Regions from separate parts of the Homo sapiens genome. Here region 2 is linked to region 1. Evidence: promoter capture Hi-C in 16 types of primary human blood cells and fetal thymus (Javierre and others, 2016). All regions are on one chromosome and are shown on one strand. Each heading gives the region's core, a stretch centred on a gene start or on the middle of the fragment in contact. The rest is flanking DNA. Distances are from core to core; before and after follow the strand shown. Region 1 holds the start of TRNAU1AP (tRNA selenocysteine 1 associated protein 1). Region 2 overlaps SRSF4 (serine and arginine rich splicing factor 4).

Region 1 (6,936 bases), core at 2,159-4,658:
GACAATTTCCACGGACAGGGGATGGTTTGGGGATTACTCAAGCGCATTACATTTATTGTGCACTTTATTATTATTAATGTAACGTTGTAATATATAATGAAATGATTATATAACTCACCATAATGTAGAATCAGTGGGAGCCCTGAGCTTGTTTTCCTGCAACTAGACAGTCCCCTCTGGGGTTGTTGGGAGACAGTGACAGATCATCAGGTATTAGATTCTCATAAGGATGCCAGGCATGGTGGCTGACGCCTGTAATCTCAACACTTGGAAAGGCTGAGGCAGATGGATCACCTGAGGACAGGAGTTTGAGACCAGCCTGGCCAACATGGCAAAACCCCGTCTCTATTAAAAATACAAAAAAATTGGTGGGCGTGGTGGCTCACGCCTGTAATGCCAGCACTTTGGGAGGCTGAGGTGGGTGGATCACGAGGTCAGGAGATTGAGATCATCCTGGCTAATACGGTGAAACCCCGTCTCTACTAAAAATACAAAAAAACTAGCCAGGCATGGTAGTGGGCGCCTGTAGTCCCAGCTACTTGGGAGGCTGAGGCAGGAGACTGGCATGAACCTGGGAGGCGGAGCTTGCAGTGAGCTGAGATCACACCACTGCACTCCAGCCAGGGCGAGAGCGAGACTCTGTCTCAAAAGAAAAAACAAAAACCCACACCACCATACCCACTAACTCTGAGGCTTTAGTCATATAAAGAAAAATAGCCATTATATATTGTTCTTTTGTGCTCTTATAATGTGTAACCATGCCCTTTAATTAAAGAATTCCAGGATCTACAAAAAAAAAAGAAAGCAGAAAAAAGAAGCCAGGCGTGGTGGCTCACGCCTGTAATCCCAGCACTTTGGGAGGCCACAGTGGGGGGATCATGAGGTCAGGAGTTCTAGACCAGCCTGGCCAACATAGTGAAACCCTGCCTCTTCTAAAAATAAAAAAAAAAAAAAAAAAAAAAAAAAACTAGCCAGGCATGGTGGCAGGTGGCTGTAATCCGTCTCAAACAAAAAAAAAAAAAAAAAAAAAAAAAGAAAGAAAAGAAAAAAGAGGCTGGGCGCTGTGGCTCACACCTATAATCCCAGCACTTTGGGAGGCCAAGGCAGGAGGATCGCTTGAGCCTAGGAGTCCAAAATGAGCTTGGCCAACATAGTGAGCTCTCCTCTCTGCAAAAAAAAAAAAATTAGCCAGCTGTGGGGGTGCACACCTGTAGTGCCAGCTACTCTGGAGGCTGAGGCAGGAGGATCACTTGAGTCCGGGAGTTTGAGGCTGCAATAAGCCAAGATTGTGCCAATGCGCTCCAGCCTGGGCGACAGAGAGAGACCCTCTCTCAGAATGACTGACCAACTGAATAAATAAATAAATAAATAAAATAAAAATAATTCTAGGATCTGGCCTTAGGAGATCCAAATTATCCAACCAAGGTTGTGGAATGTCTCATCTCAGGAAGAAATGCTGAAAACTTCATTTACAGCCTTGTTGCTGACAGCCAAACTACCAGGTAGCCCAGTACTAAAGATAATCATTGGCTGGGCGCGATGGGTGGCTCACGCCTGTAATCCCAGCACTTTGGGAGGCCGAGGTGGGTGGATCACCTCAGGTCAGGAGTTCGAGACCAGCCTGACCAACATGGTGAAACCCCGTCTCTACTGAAAATACAAAAATTAGCTGTGCCTGGTGGTGGGCGCCTGTAATCCCAGCTACTCAGGAGGTGAAGCAGGAGAATAGCTAGAACCCAGGAGGCTAGATTCTAGCTATTCTGAGCCGAGATTGTGCCATTGCACTCCAGCCTGGGCGACAAAGGAAGACTCCGTCTCAAAAAAAAAAAAAAAGATAATCATTACAACAGGATATGCTGACCTTCATACCCCACCCTCATGAGCTTTGTCCTGCCCAGCCTGTAAACCCTACACTTGATATCACTTTCCGTGCTTTGCCCAATAAAACATCTCAACCAGCTCTTTTCGGAGAGTCAGGGAATTCTCGCTCTCTTGTGCTGCCTCCCTTATACCCAGGCATAAGCTCCAATGAAGACTTGTCTGGGAAAACTTTTTTGGCCTCATGTTAATTTCTGTTGGATTGAGAGCCTAAGAACCCCTGGTAACAATAGGGAGGTAGTGGAACCGGGTTGTCCGGAGGGATATTTTCACTTTTTTGGATGCACTTGTATCTGCAGTTTTTTACAACGAGCATATATTAATGTTGTAATTATGTGTGTGTTTGTGTGTGTGTGTACGTGTGTATGTTTTTTGTTTTTTGTTTTTTTTTTAATTTGAGACAGAGTCTCACTCTGTCGCCCAGGCTGGAGTGCAGTGGCGCGATCTCGGCTCACTGCAGCCTCTGCCTCCCGGGTTCAAGTGATTATCCTGTCTCAGCCACCTGAGTAGCTGGGACTACAAGTGCACACCATCATACCCGGCTAATTTCTGTATTTTTAGTAGAGACGGGGTTTCACCATGTTGGCCAGGATGGTCTCGATCTCCTGACCTCGTGATCTGCCCACCTCGGCCTCCCAAAGTGTTGGGATTACAGGCGTGAGCCACCGCGCCCGGCCTTGTTTGTTTTCTAAATATGTAAAGTCAGAAATTAACCCAAGTAACGAGCATACATATATATGTGTGTGTGTGTGTGTATATATGTATATATATGTGTATGTGTGTATATATGTGTATATGTGTATTATGTGTGTATATGTGTATATATGTGTATATATATGTGTATGTGTGTGTGTGTGTGTATGTATATATATGGAGTCTTGCTCTGTCACCAGGCTGCGGTGCAATGGCGCTATCTCGGCTCACTGCAACTTCTGCCCCCTGGGTTTAAGCGATTCTCCTGCCTCAGTCTCCCGAGTAGCTGCGACTACCAGCGCTCGCCACCACGCCCGCTAATTTTCGTACTTTTAGTAGAGAGGGGGTTTCCCCCTGTTGGCGAGGATGGTCTCGATTTCTTCACCTCGTGATCCGCCCGCCTCGGCCTCCTCAAGTGCTGGGATTACAGGCGTGAGCCACCGTGCCCAGCCCTAACGAGCATATATTAATGTTGTAATTATATGTGTCTGTGTGTGTGTGGTTTTGTTTTCTATATAAAGTCAGACGAGTGTGTGTGTGTAGTTTTGTTTGTTTTCTAAATATATAAAGTCAGAAATAAACCCAAGTAACCCAGCCGCCTGGGCCAGGTGGTATCTGGCCCGCCCCATTCCAGCCTGAACTCCGCCCACCGCGATCCGGAAGCCTAGCGCCCAGTGGGTTGCAGGAAAAACCCGGAGCTGAACACACTGCCCGACCCGGGCCGCTGCGCTCGGGAGCCTGCGCAGAAGCCGTCGGAGGCGCATGCTCTGTAGCGGTCTCCGCAGCCAGGATTGGCGCCCGCGCGGGCCTTCGAGCCCCGCCCGCAGAGCCCCGCCCGCAAAGCCCCACCCCGGTGCGCGGGTATGGCGGCCAGCCTGTGGATGGGCGACGTGAGTGAGGGCAGCCGTCCGGGGTCTGAAGACAAGGAAGCATCTCGGTTTCGCGAGAGAGGAAGGATCTGAGTGGGAGGGGACTTGGGATCCCAGAAAGGGGAGACGTGTGACGGGGGTTCTTTTTGGTGACACAGAAGCGGGTTCCAGCATCTAAGTGAAGAGGCTGAGTCCGTGAGGCTAGGGGTCCTGGGGCCCCACCTGGGTTCGTGGGAGGGAAAGGTGGTGCTTTGGGGACATAGAATGGGAGCAATCCAAGGACTGAGGCGCGCTGTTCTGGGACCGGAGGAGTGGGGTTTCTAGGTCCAAGGGGAGGCTCCCTAAAGCGGGGCAAGCTTGAACCAAAAGAGCTGGGGTTTCAGGCCGCTCAGTGGAGGCGAACCTCGCCCCTCGCTCCCCCAGCGGCGCGTAGCCAGCCCTGGGCTGAACGGGAGGGGCTCTGGAACCCGGAGTGGGAAGCCCGGCCGCCGGCCTGAGCCGCTGTGCTCTTGTTTTTACGCAGCTGGAACCCTACATGGATGAGAACTTCATCTCCAGAGCCTTTGCCACCATGGGGGAGACCGTAATGAGCGTCAAAATTATCCGAAACCGCCTCACTGGGTAAGTCTCATCTCAGGTCTCTCTTAATACATCTCGTTGCAGCTGTCATGTACGAGAATGTAAACATCGTAGTCATGGCTTCTCACTACCCCTAGTAATAGTCACTGTAAAATTATAACAGCTAACATTTTGAGGTCCCAATGAGTGGAAGGATGGCATGTAGCTTAAGGGTAGGACTTGCCAGGCGTTGTGACTCACACCTGTAATCCCAGCACTTTGGGAGGCTGAGGTGGGTGGATCACCTGAGGTCAGGAGTTTGAGACCAGCCTGGCCAACATGGTGAAACCCCGTCTCTACTAAAAATACAAAAATTAGCCGGGTGTGGTGGCAGGCACCTGTAACCCCAGCTACTCCGGAGGCTGAGGCATGAGAATCACTTGAACCCGGGAGGCGAAGGTTGCAGTGAGCTGAGATCGTGCCACTGTACTTCAGCTTGGACAACAAGAGCAAAACAATGTCTCAAAAAAAAAAAAAACAAAAAAACAAAAAACGCAGGACTCAAGCGAGACTGGGTTTGAAAGCTATTTCTACTCTATGACCTTGGGTAAGTTACTTAACTGCTCTGTCTCATTCACTTTGAGTATAAAAATGGAAATAACAGCACCTACCTCCTAGAGTTATGGTGAGGATTAAATGAGTTAATTCACATTCATCATTAGGACAGTGTATGGCATATAGCATATGCTCAGTAAGTATAGTCAGATTACGATCTGCTGAGTAATAAGCAGTTTACATCCATTATCTCCTTAAAACCTCAGAAACTTCTGAGGTAGGTAAATACTATTATGAAGAGGCTTAATAACTTGAAGAGTTACAATAAATAGCCGGGCGCAGTGGCTCTCGCCTGTAATCCTAGCACTTTGGGAGGCCGAGGCAGGCCGGATCACGAGGTCAGGAGATTGAGACCATCCTGGCTAACACGGTGAAACCCCATCTCTACTAAAAATACAAAAAAAATTAGCTGGGCATGGTGGCGGGCACTTGTAGTCTCAGCTACTTGGGGGGCTGAGGCAGGAGAATGGCGTGAACCCAGGAGGCGGAGCTTGCAGTGAGCCGAGATCGCTCCACTCCACTCCAGCCTGGGCGACAGCTGAGACTCTGTCTCAAAAAAAAAAAAAAAGAGTTATAATAAATAACAAGTCAGGACTTGAATTCGAGTCTATCCTGAAAGCTCATGAGGGCCCTTAACTCTTATGCCATTCATTTAAAAAATTGTGGAGGATGGGTGCGGTGCCTCATGCCTGTAATCCCAGCACTTCGGGAGGCGAGAAGGGTGGATCACCTGAGGTCAGGAGTTGGAGACCAGCCTGACCAACATGGAGAAACCCTGTCTCTACCAAAAATTAGCCAGGCGTGGTGGTGCATGCCTGTAATCCCAGCTACCTGGGAGGCTGAGGCAGGAGAATCGCTTGAACTTGGGAGGCAGAGGTTGTAGTGAGCCGAGATCGCGCCATTGCACTCCAGCCTGGGCAATAAGAGCGAAACTCCATCTCAAAAAAAAAAAAAAAATTATCTGTGGAGATACTACTGTGTTCTACTGTTATACATTCCTGGCTGAAATAATCCAGATATAGCCCCTGCTCATGGAGTTTACTACATTCTAGTGGGGAATGAGACAATAAATAAGTAAACATAACCAAATGCGTATTTTCAGATAGAGGTTCTCTATTGCCTCCATGTTCTTCTTTCTCTTTGAGGTCTTAGTTTTCCTTAGGGAATTATCAATTTGTCAGTGTTTATCAAGCAGCTACTCTTTTCCTTTTTTTTTTTTTTTTGAGACGGAGTCTCGCTCTGTCACTACCCAGGTTGGAGTGCAGTGGCGCGATCTTGGCTCACTGAAAGCTCCGCCTCCTGGGTTCACGCCATTCTCCAAGCAGCCACTCTTTTCTCGGTACTCTACTACATGTGGCTTGCTAAAACATCAAATGGTTTAAAAATAGAGATGAGACATTTGAAAGATACTTTGTGTATTCAGAACCCCATTACCTAGGAAAAGGTTTTTCTGACTGGTAGATCGTGCCCACCTAAATATTTCTCTTCTTGCTCTTCTAAGCAGAAAACCCCAGATAATCAGCTACTGGTATGAAAATTCATTCTGTAACCTTTCTCATTTTTTTTTCTTTTTTTTTTTTTTGAGACGGAGTCTTGCTCTGTGGCCCAGGCTGGTGTGCAGTGGCACGATCTCGGCTCACTGCAAGCTCCACCTCCTGGGTTCAAGCCATTCTCCTGCCTCAGCCTCCCAAGTAGCTGGGACTACAGGCGCCCGCCACCACGCCAGGCTAATTTTTTGTATTTTTAGTAGAGATGGGGTTTCACCATGTTAGCCAGATGGTCTCAATCTCATGACCTCGTGATCCGCCTGCCTTGGCCTCCCAAAGTGCTGGGATTACAGGTGTGAGCCACCGCGCCCGGCCCCTTTCTACTTTTTAAAACACTGGCATAGGCTGGGCACGGTAGCTCACACTTGTAATCCCAGCACTTTGGGAGGCTGAGGTGGGCAGATCACTTGAGGTCAGGAATTTGAGAACAGCCTGGACAACATGGTGAAACCTTGTCTCTACTAAAAAAATACAAAAATTAGCCAGGTGTGGTGAGACACACCTGTAATTCCAACTACTTGAGAGGCTGAGGAAGGAGAATCGTTTGAACCCAGGAGGTAGAGGTTGCAGTGAGCCGAGATTGTGCCACTGTGCTCCAGCCTGGGTGACAGAGGGAAACTTTGTTGCAAAAATAAATAAGTAAAACACTGGCATAGATTCTCACATTTTAATCTTTTTTTTTTTTTTTTTTCTGAGGCATAGTCTCCCTCTGTTGCCCAGGCTGAAGTGCAATGGCACCATCTTGGCTCACTGCAACCTCCGCCTCCTGGGTTTAA
Region 2 (6,936 bases), core at 2,809-5,308, 620 kb after region 1:
TGGTCTGCAAACGTTGGCCACAGCTCAGTCTGCACTTGATCTTTCCCCACCTTCAAAGAAGAAAACCTACCTCATGATTTCTCTCTTCCGGATCCCTTGACCATCTAATTTGCTCCCAACACCTTTGTAATCACTTCTGACTATATCTTATTGGTTACCCACTGGGTCTACTGCCAAGTTCTGCAGTTTTCTCATTTGCTGGGCCTTCAGGGCTGTCTCTACCATTTGGATTAATTTATGTAATTCTAGGCTAGAGCTATTTTTACTTAGTCAACTTGTCTTTTGCATTGTGTCAGGAAAAGTCAGCTACTAAATCATTTTTTTGTTTAGAAGTCTATAACGACTCCTAAGTATCTTTATGTCACTCTCTAAACCTGGAACACCTTGACTACACAAGTTGAATTATATCAATCTTCTTCCATATGCTTGAGAATTACCTCTTTCATGAAGCCTCAGAAACTTGCCTATTCCAATTATTTTAGGACTTTCTTTAGCTTTAGCACTTCTATTCAATTTTACGCTTTTTGTTTTTGTTTTTTTGAGATGGAGTCTCGCTCTGTTGCCCAGGCTGGAGTGCAAAGGCACAATCTTGGCTCACTGCAGCCTCCACCTCCCAGGTTCAAGCAGTTCTCCTGCCTCAGCCTCTTGAATAGCTGGAATTACAGGCACACGCCACCACGCCCAGCTAATTTTTATATTTTTAGTGGAGACGGGGTTTCACCATGTTGGTCAGGCTTGTCTCAAACTCCTGACCTTGTGATATGGCCGCCTCAGCCTCCCAAAGTGCTGGGATTACAGGCGTGAGCCACTGTGCCCAGTCATGTTTCTGTAGCTTTTTAAGTCTTGTTTTTGTCTTTGTGCTTACCTTCTCTTTTGATTATGAGCTCTTCACTAAGAAAAACGAAGGCTAATATCTGTTGGCTATTTAGCACAGTGCCTGGCACAGTAAATAATTTATCCATAATATTTCATCCATTTGTATATCAAATGTGAAGAATGTATTATTATTCTTCTCATTTTACAATGAGAAACTGAGGCTTGGAGTAAGCAACTTGCTCATTTTCAAGGAGCTCATGAGTGAAGGAGCTAGATTTGAACCCAGACCCATGACTCTAAAAATCCCAGCTCTAAACCACAAGGTTCTAATTCCTTTTTTTTTTTTTTTTTAAAAAAAACATAGTCTCGCTCTGTCGCGCAGGCTGCAGCGCAGCGGCGCGATCTCCACTCACTGCAACCTCTGACCCTGGGCTCAAGCAATTCTTGTACCTCAGCCTTTAGAGTGGCTGGGACTACAGGTGTGCACCACCATGCCCGGCAAATTTTTTGTAATTTTTTTTTTTTTTTTTTTAGGAGAGACAGGGTTTCACCATGTTGCCCAGGGTGGTCTCGAACTCCTGAGCTCAGGCAATCCACCTGCCTTGGCCTCCCAAAGTGCTAGAATTACAGGCATGAGCCACCATGCCCGGCCTTCTACTGTATTTTAAAGGCAGATGCTTCTCTTCCAGTCCTGTGTACAATCTTTTTTCACTCAATAAATGCTGCTGCTTGACTTAATGATACTCTAACATCAGATAAAGTCAGGCTGTAGTAAAGGTTTTTGATATAATGGGGTAAAGTCTCTAGAGAAAAAAGAAATTGACCTTGGGGCAGGGTGAAGCACCTCTAAGCTGGGGGTATGTGACAACCAGGTTACTTTCACTCGTCTTTTGGTTCCCATTAGCCAGTGTCAGCCATCTGGTCCTTCCGAAAACATGTGTGGGTTCAGAACATAACAGACTAGAAGAATAGAGGAAAAATAAGATTATTCTGTGCAATCCCCATTCTGGAGGTCCCATATCAACCCCCGGAGTCTGTCTTTGCTTCTAAGGCTCAGCAAAAATTAGACCAGCATAAAGAAGATGAAGACTTGGATCTAGACGTGGTGGATGTGAATGAATATTGGCAATATTATGTATTTAGGAATGTATTTAATTAGTTTTGCAAGGAATGGTGACTTGAACCAAAAAATATAAGCGTGAATGGTAGGAGGGAAATGGGCCAGAAATCAAAGAATACTAGAAAGTTTACAGACTTTCAACTATACAAAGGTTAAAGCAGCAACCAGAAAAGTACCATGCAGATGATAAACATCTAAGATGTGATTTAATTTTCATTAACTAAAAACTATTTTTAACATGCAGCCCACTAGGACTCTTCTTCACATTTCTTTGTAATAATTACTACTCCTATTTTTGAAAGTTTTACGATGTATAAAGCATTATGCTAAGTGCTTTACACACATTATATCCATTTAATTTTCACAACTCTGAGGTTTACTGTCATCTGACAGATCAAGAAACTAACTTAGAGGAGTTGAGTAACTTGCCAAGACTATCCCAAAGACCTGGGATTCTTCACACCCAGCTAACCTAAAACCTGCATTCTACCACCACGTTTTAACCGCCTCCTATATACCAATGAAAAGTGGTCCATAAAACCAGAGTTGGAGAAACACAAGCTCTTGCACAGAAAATCAGTTTCATCAAATTATGTGCTGTAGTGTGGAAGACAAATGCCCACAGGAATATAAGCATCTTATGAGAAAGAGTAAGTGGCAAGAAAACACCATTTCTGCATGTGATGTGTGTGTGCTAATACCAGTAAGTTGTGAACATTTATTCTCTACAAGTGGAACCAAACCCATATGCCATCAAAATTTTAATACTAGTCTAGGAAAATAGAAAAAGGTAACAAATCATTAAGAAACTTATATCTCAGCAATGAGAACACAAATATATCAGTGGGAAAATTAAACTCATGATCCTTTCTCATAAAGTAAACCAACTGCTGAAAAAAAATCTCTAATGATGAACTAACCAAACTCAAGCCCATGGTATTGAGTCCACATTGCAGATAACAGCCCATCTCTAACAGAATATATATTCACATAGTAGGGTGAGAAAAACAGAACAATCATTATCCTAAACACCAAACAGTAAAACTAAATCCTCCCAGAATGGGAGGTAGAGAGGAATCTGCATCAAATATGAATTTAGTCTTACTCTGTAACTACTCTATGAGCCTATTTGCCAACTTTGTTTTAGCTATTCAAAACTTTCAAAAATGAACTAAGTCAGCTAAGGTATTTCACTTTTACACTGCAAATAGTTTGTGGATCAAACTATCATTACCCCCTGCAATCATAACTGAACTTTCTTTTTTGATATTTTAAAGTCAACATGGCTTTCCTGAAAGGGAGGGCAGATACAATCATCTGTGTCCATTTCAATTTTCTGACACTTTTCAACACTAAGGATAAATGAAATTGAAAGCTTTCAAAAAAGGGGAATCAACTATTGCCTGATGACAAGAAGTTCGTGAAGACTCAACCACAAATTAAAAACGATTTGAAAAAACTCGAGAGATGAAAGTCACATTACCAATTTAGAATAAAACTCTTGGGATTTAATATAGAATTACTTTATCTGTTATTCCTACTTAAAGAAATAAAGGTTTACACTCTGCAGACAGCACTACCTGATTCCACACAAAAGCTACAAACAAAACCAGTTCATACTTACCTCTTAAACAACACAATGAGCAGGCTGCCAGGTGTTAAAGCTTCATTAAAGATGATGCCTCTTGGATCATCTTGGCTGTATGAGGCACCATGTCCCTCATAATCGCCCCTGGTCCCTGGGCTGGAGTCTGTTTCTTCATTTTCATTTTTGGTTAAAGATGCCACTCCCTATGCTTTTATTAATTAGTGGATGCCACTAATTAAGTATTTTAATGAATTTTTCAAATTCTTTTAAAATGGATGGATCAATAGCTTCATTTCAATTACATGAAAACCTTTCCAAGTCCATGTTTCTGGTCTGTGGTTCCTGACTCCCTTGCCTGAGCCTCCTGCTCTGTCTGCCCTCTTCATTCCTGAAGGCTGAATTCAAACCTCCCTCTTTCAGACTTCCTCTTCTCTCTAGGTCTTGGGGGTCTTTGTTCATGAAGGTCCCCTTTCTGGCATAAAAACCTAAACCCATGGTTGGGGACCTGGGAGAAATAAAGTGCCTTTCAAGCGCTTCTTCAGACATTGCGTGCAGTTCAGAAATCTTTAGCCTGGGAGACTTTCATCTCAACACACAGAAAACTCAAGTAAAACATTTCCTCAAACTATGGGCATACAAATTCAGAGCATAATCTAATCCCTCACCTTCAGGGTACTATAAGACCAGACGGCCCTAGGAATGACAATAAGGCAGAGAACATTTACTTGTACAAATCCTTCCTCAGCCAACCACGATAAAGCTGATACCACCTTACAGCTTTTCAAAGAGTAGCCTGAGGAGGAGAATCACTAGCAGTCTCCAACTAAGGACAACATCATAAAAAATACCATCTGTCTCACTTTTGGCAGTAACTTGTCAGCTTGCTGGAAGCCTCTACAGAGACTAAAGGCTGAACAAGCCCGGAAACCTGAACTACCCTCTCACCCTCAGAGGCAATCCCCAAAGGACAGGACTAAAGGAAATAGCATGAGGGAAGCTTTGAATGTCAATGCCCACATGTATCTAGTATGGGAATTTAAAAAATCTTCTATTTCCGGAGTTGTCAATAACTCATTTTGTAACCTTGGGCCAGTCACCTTATCACCCCATGCCTCAGTTTCCCCATCAGTACAAACTAGGGACAACACTTGTTCATAAAGTACTTTGACATACTCAGTTGAAAAATAAGTCATACAAATGCATTAATATTTTCGGAAGTTTTAAGATTTCAGTGTTAGCTTACAAATTTGTAAGTATCACCCCAACGGTATTCTCTCAGATGCCTGGAGCACCTTTCTTCTGAGGAGCTCAAAGTAAAATTTGCGGTTCTGGGTACCTGGAAGCATAAAAAAATACTAGAAACCCAAACCACATTTTATTACCGAGTCTATATCCTGTGCCTATCTTTTAAGAAGGGACAAATACTTCGTATGGCCCTTAAATTCATACAGTACCTCAATGAGAAAGGAGGAGCAAAACAGTATATTAAACTGAAGAACAGGGATTTTAAATGACTTAGTCAAATAATTACAAATGATGTTTATTCATACCACAAACTGAAGGGACCAAGAACCAAGGAGTGGAGGTCTTGAACCAGGGCAATTTACGCTGTTAACATTTGGTCAAAAATCTCAATATGGTATTATCTCTTGGCATTGATTTTTCAAAATGACAGAAAAAAATTAAATTCCCCATATATTGGGGGAAAAAAATAATACACTTTTTTGGGGGGTAAGTTGACTTTAAAAAGTGACTTTTAATAAAAAAAAATTTGATCACATTTGTAATAGTTATATTACTAATAAAACAATGACAGAATGCTACTTAATTCATAGTCCTATCTCTATTTATTATTCATTCAAGAAAAACTTCCTGATTATTTTTCACTTGGTAAATTAGCATCTTTTATTTTTATTTTTTATTTTTGAGACAGAGTCTCACTCTGTCACCCAAGCTGGAGTGGAATGGTGTGATCTCACACTGCAACTTCCGCCTCCCGGGTTCAAGCGGTTCTCCTGCCTCAGCCTCCCGAGTAGCTAGGATTGCAGGAGCCTACCACCATGCCCAGCTAATTTTTGTAATTTCAGTAGAGACAGGGTCTCATCATGTTGGTCAGGCTGGTCTCGAACTTCTGACCTCAGGTGATCCGCCCGCCTTGGCCTCCTAAAGTGCTGGAATTACAGACGTGAGCCACCACGCCTGGCCAGCAAACACAACAGGGGTACTCCATGCTGTTGAAGTGCCCATCACACGGGCATGCTCATACACTGCGGGTGTTAAGTGTAACTGGTGTAGCTTTTCTGGAAAGTTATTTGGTTATATGCACTGAGATACTTGAATATGTTCACTCCTGCTGTGACACATGAATTTTATTTCATGGAATCCATATGTACTCAGGGATAATAAAAATGCAAACAAAGTTTTATGCACATAATACCCATCACAGGGTTACTTATAACAGCAAGAATTAGGAGACCAAAAAAAAGGTAGACAATATAAGAGGAATGGTTGGGTAAGTCATAATATTGCCATACAATGGATTTTATGAAGCCATTAATAAGGAAGATTTTAATGTAATAGAAAATACATGAGATAAATTAAGTAAAAAAAGCGTGACACAAAATTGCACGTAAAACCTCACCCATCTTAAAAGGATGCTTAATGATACTTTTCACTTTATGCTTTCATAATATCTAAATGATCTACAATTAACCTACATTTATTCTCTAATGAGTCAAAAAGGCTTTTTTTTTTTTTTTTTTTTTTTTTGAGACAGAGTCTTGCTCTGTCATCCAGGCTGGAGTGCAGTGGTGCGATCTCGGCTCACTGCAAGCTCAGCCTCCCGGGTTCACGCCATTCTCCTACTTCAACCTCCCAAGTAGCTGGGACTACAGGCGCAGGCCAACAGGCCCGGCTAATTTTTTTTGTATTTTTTTTTTAGTAGAGATAGGGTTTCACCATGTTAGCCAGGATGGTCTCGATCTCCTGACCTCGTGATCCGCCCGCCTCGGCCTCCCAAAGTGCTGGGATTACAGGTGTGAGCCACCACGCCTGGCCTAAAAAGTTGTTTTTTTTTTTTCTTTTTTTTTTTTTTTTTTGAGATGGAGTCTCACTCTGTTGCCCAGGCTGGAGTGCAATGGTGCAATCTCGGCTCCCGGGTTCTAGCGATTCTCCTGCCTCAGCCTCCTAAGTAGCTGGGATTACAGCAAGTGCCACCATACCCAGCTAATTTTTGTCTTTTTAGTACAGACGGGGTTTCACCATGCTGGCCAGGCTGGTCTCAAACTCCTGACCTCAAGTGATCCGCCCACCTCAGCTTCCCAAAAGTGCTGGGATTACAGGTGTGAGCCACCGCACCTGGTCCAAAAAGTTCTTGAATTTGTTATGCTTGATAGGCTAAATAGACAAGCCT

The links. Contacts are between HindIII fragments. The CHiCAGO score rates a contact against its expected background, and 5 or more counts as called.
Region 2: a contact is called between a fragment that was not itself captured here and the fragment with the promoter of TRNAU1AP in region 1, in 5 of 17 cell types (total CD4 T cells, non-activated CD4 T cells, total CD8 T cells and 2 more). The highest score is 6.4, in total CD4 T cells.

The regions. Positions count from the first base shown.
Region 1 is chr1:28,549,677-28,556,612 of GRCh38, forward strand. TRNAU1AP (tRNA selenocysteine 1 associated protein 1) reads left to right here and starts at 3,409. Exons shown (of 9, transcript NM_017846.5): 1 at 3,409-3,461; 2 at 3,964-4,061. The coding sequence starts at 3,435. RefSeq lists enhancers at 3,121-3,415, 3,139-3,198 and silencers at 3,349-3,488, 4,421-4,715. The HindIII fragment of the contact is 4,615 bases long and covers 1-3,794 here.
Region 2 is chr1:29,166,863-29,173,798 of GRCh38, forward strand. All of the region lies in intron 1 of SRSF4 (serine and arginine rich splicing factor 4), which reads right to left. It also overlaps a transcript of MECR not described here. Among named protein-coding and RNA genes, the nearest start is that of SRSF4, 12 kb to the right of the region's middle. The HindIII fragment of the contact is 921 bases long and covers 3,599-4,519 here.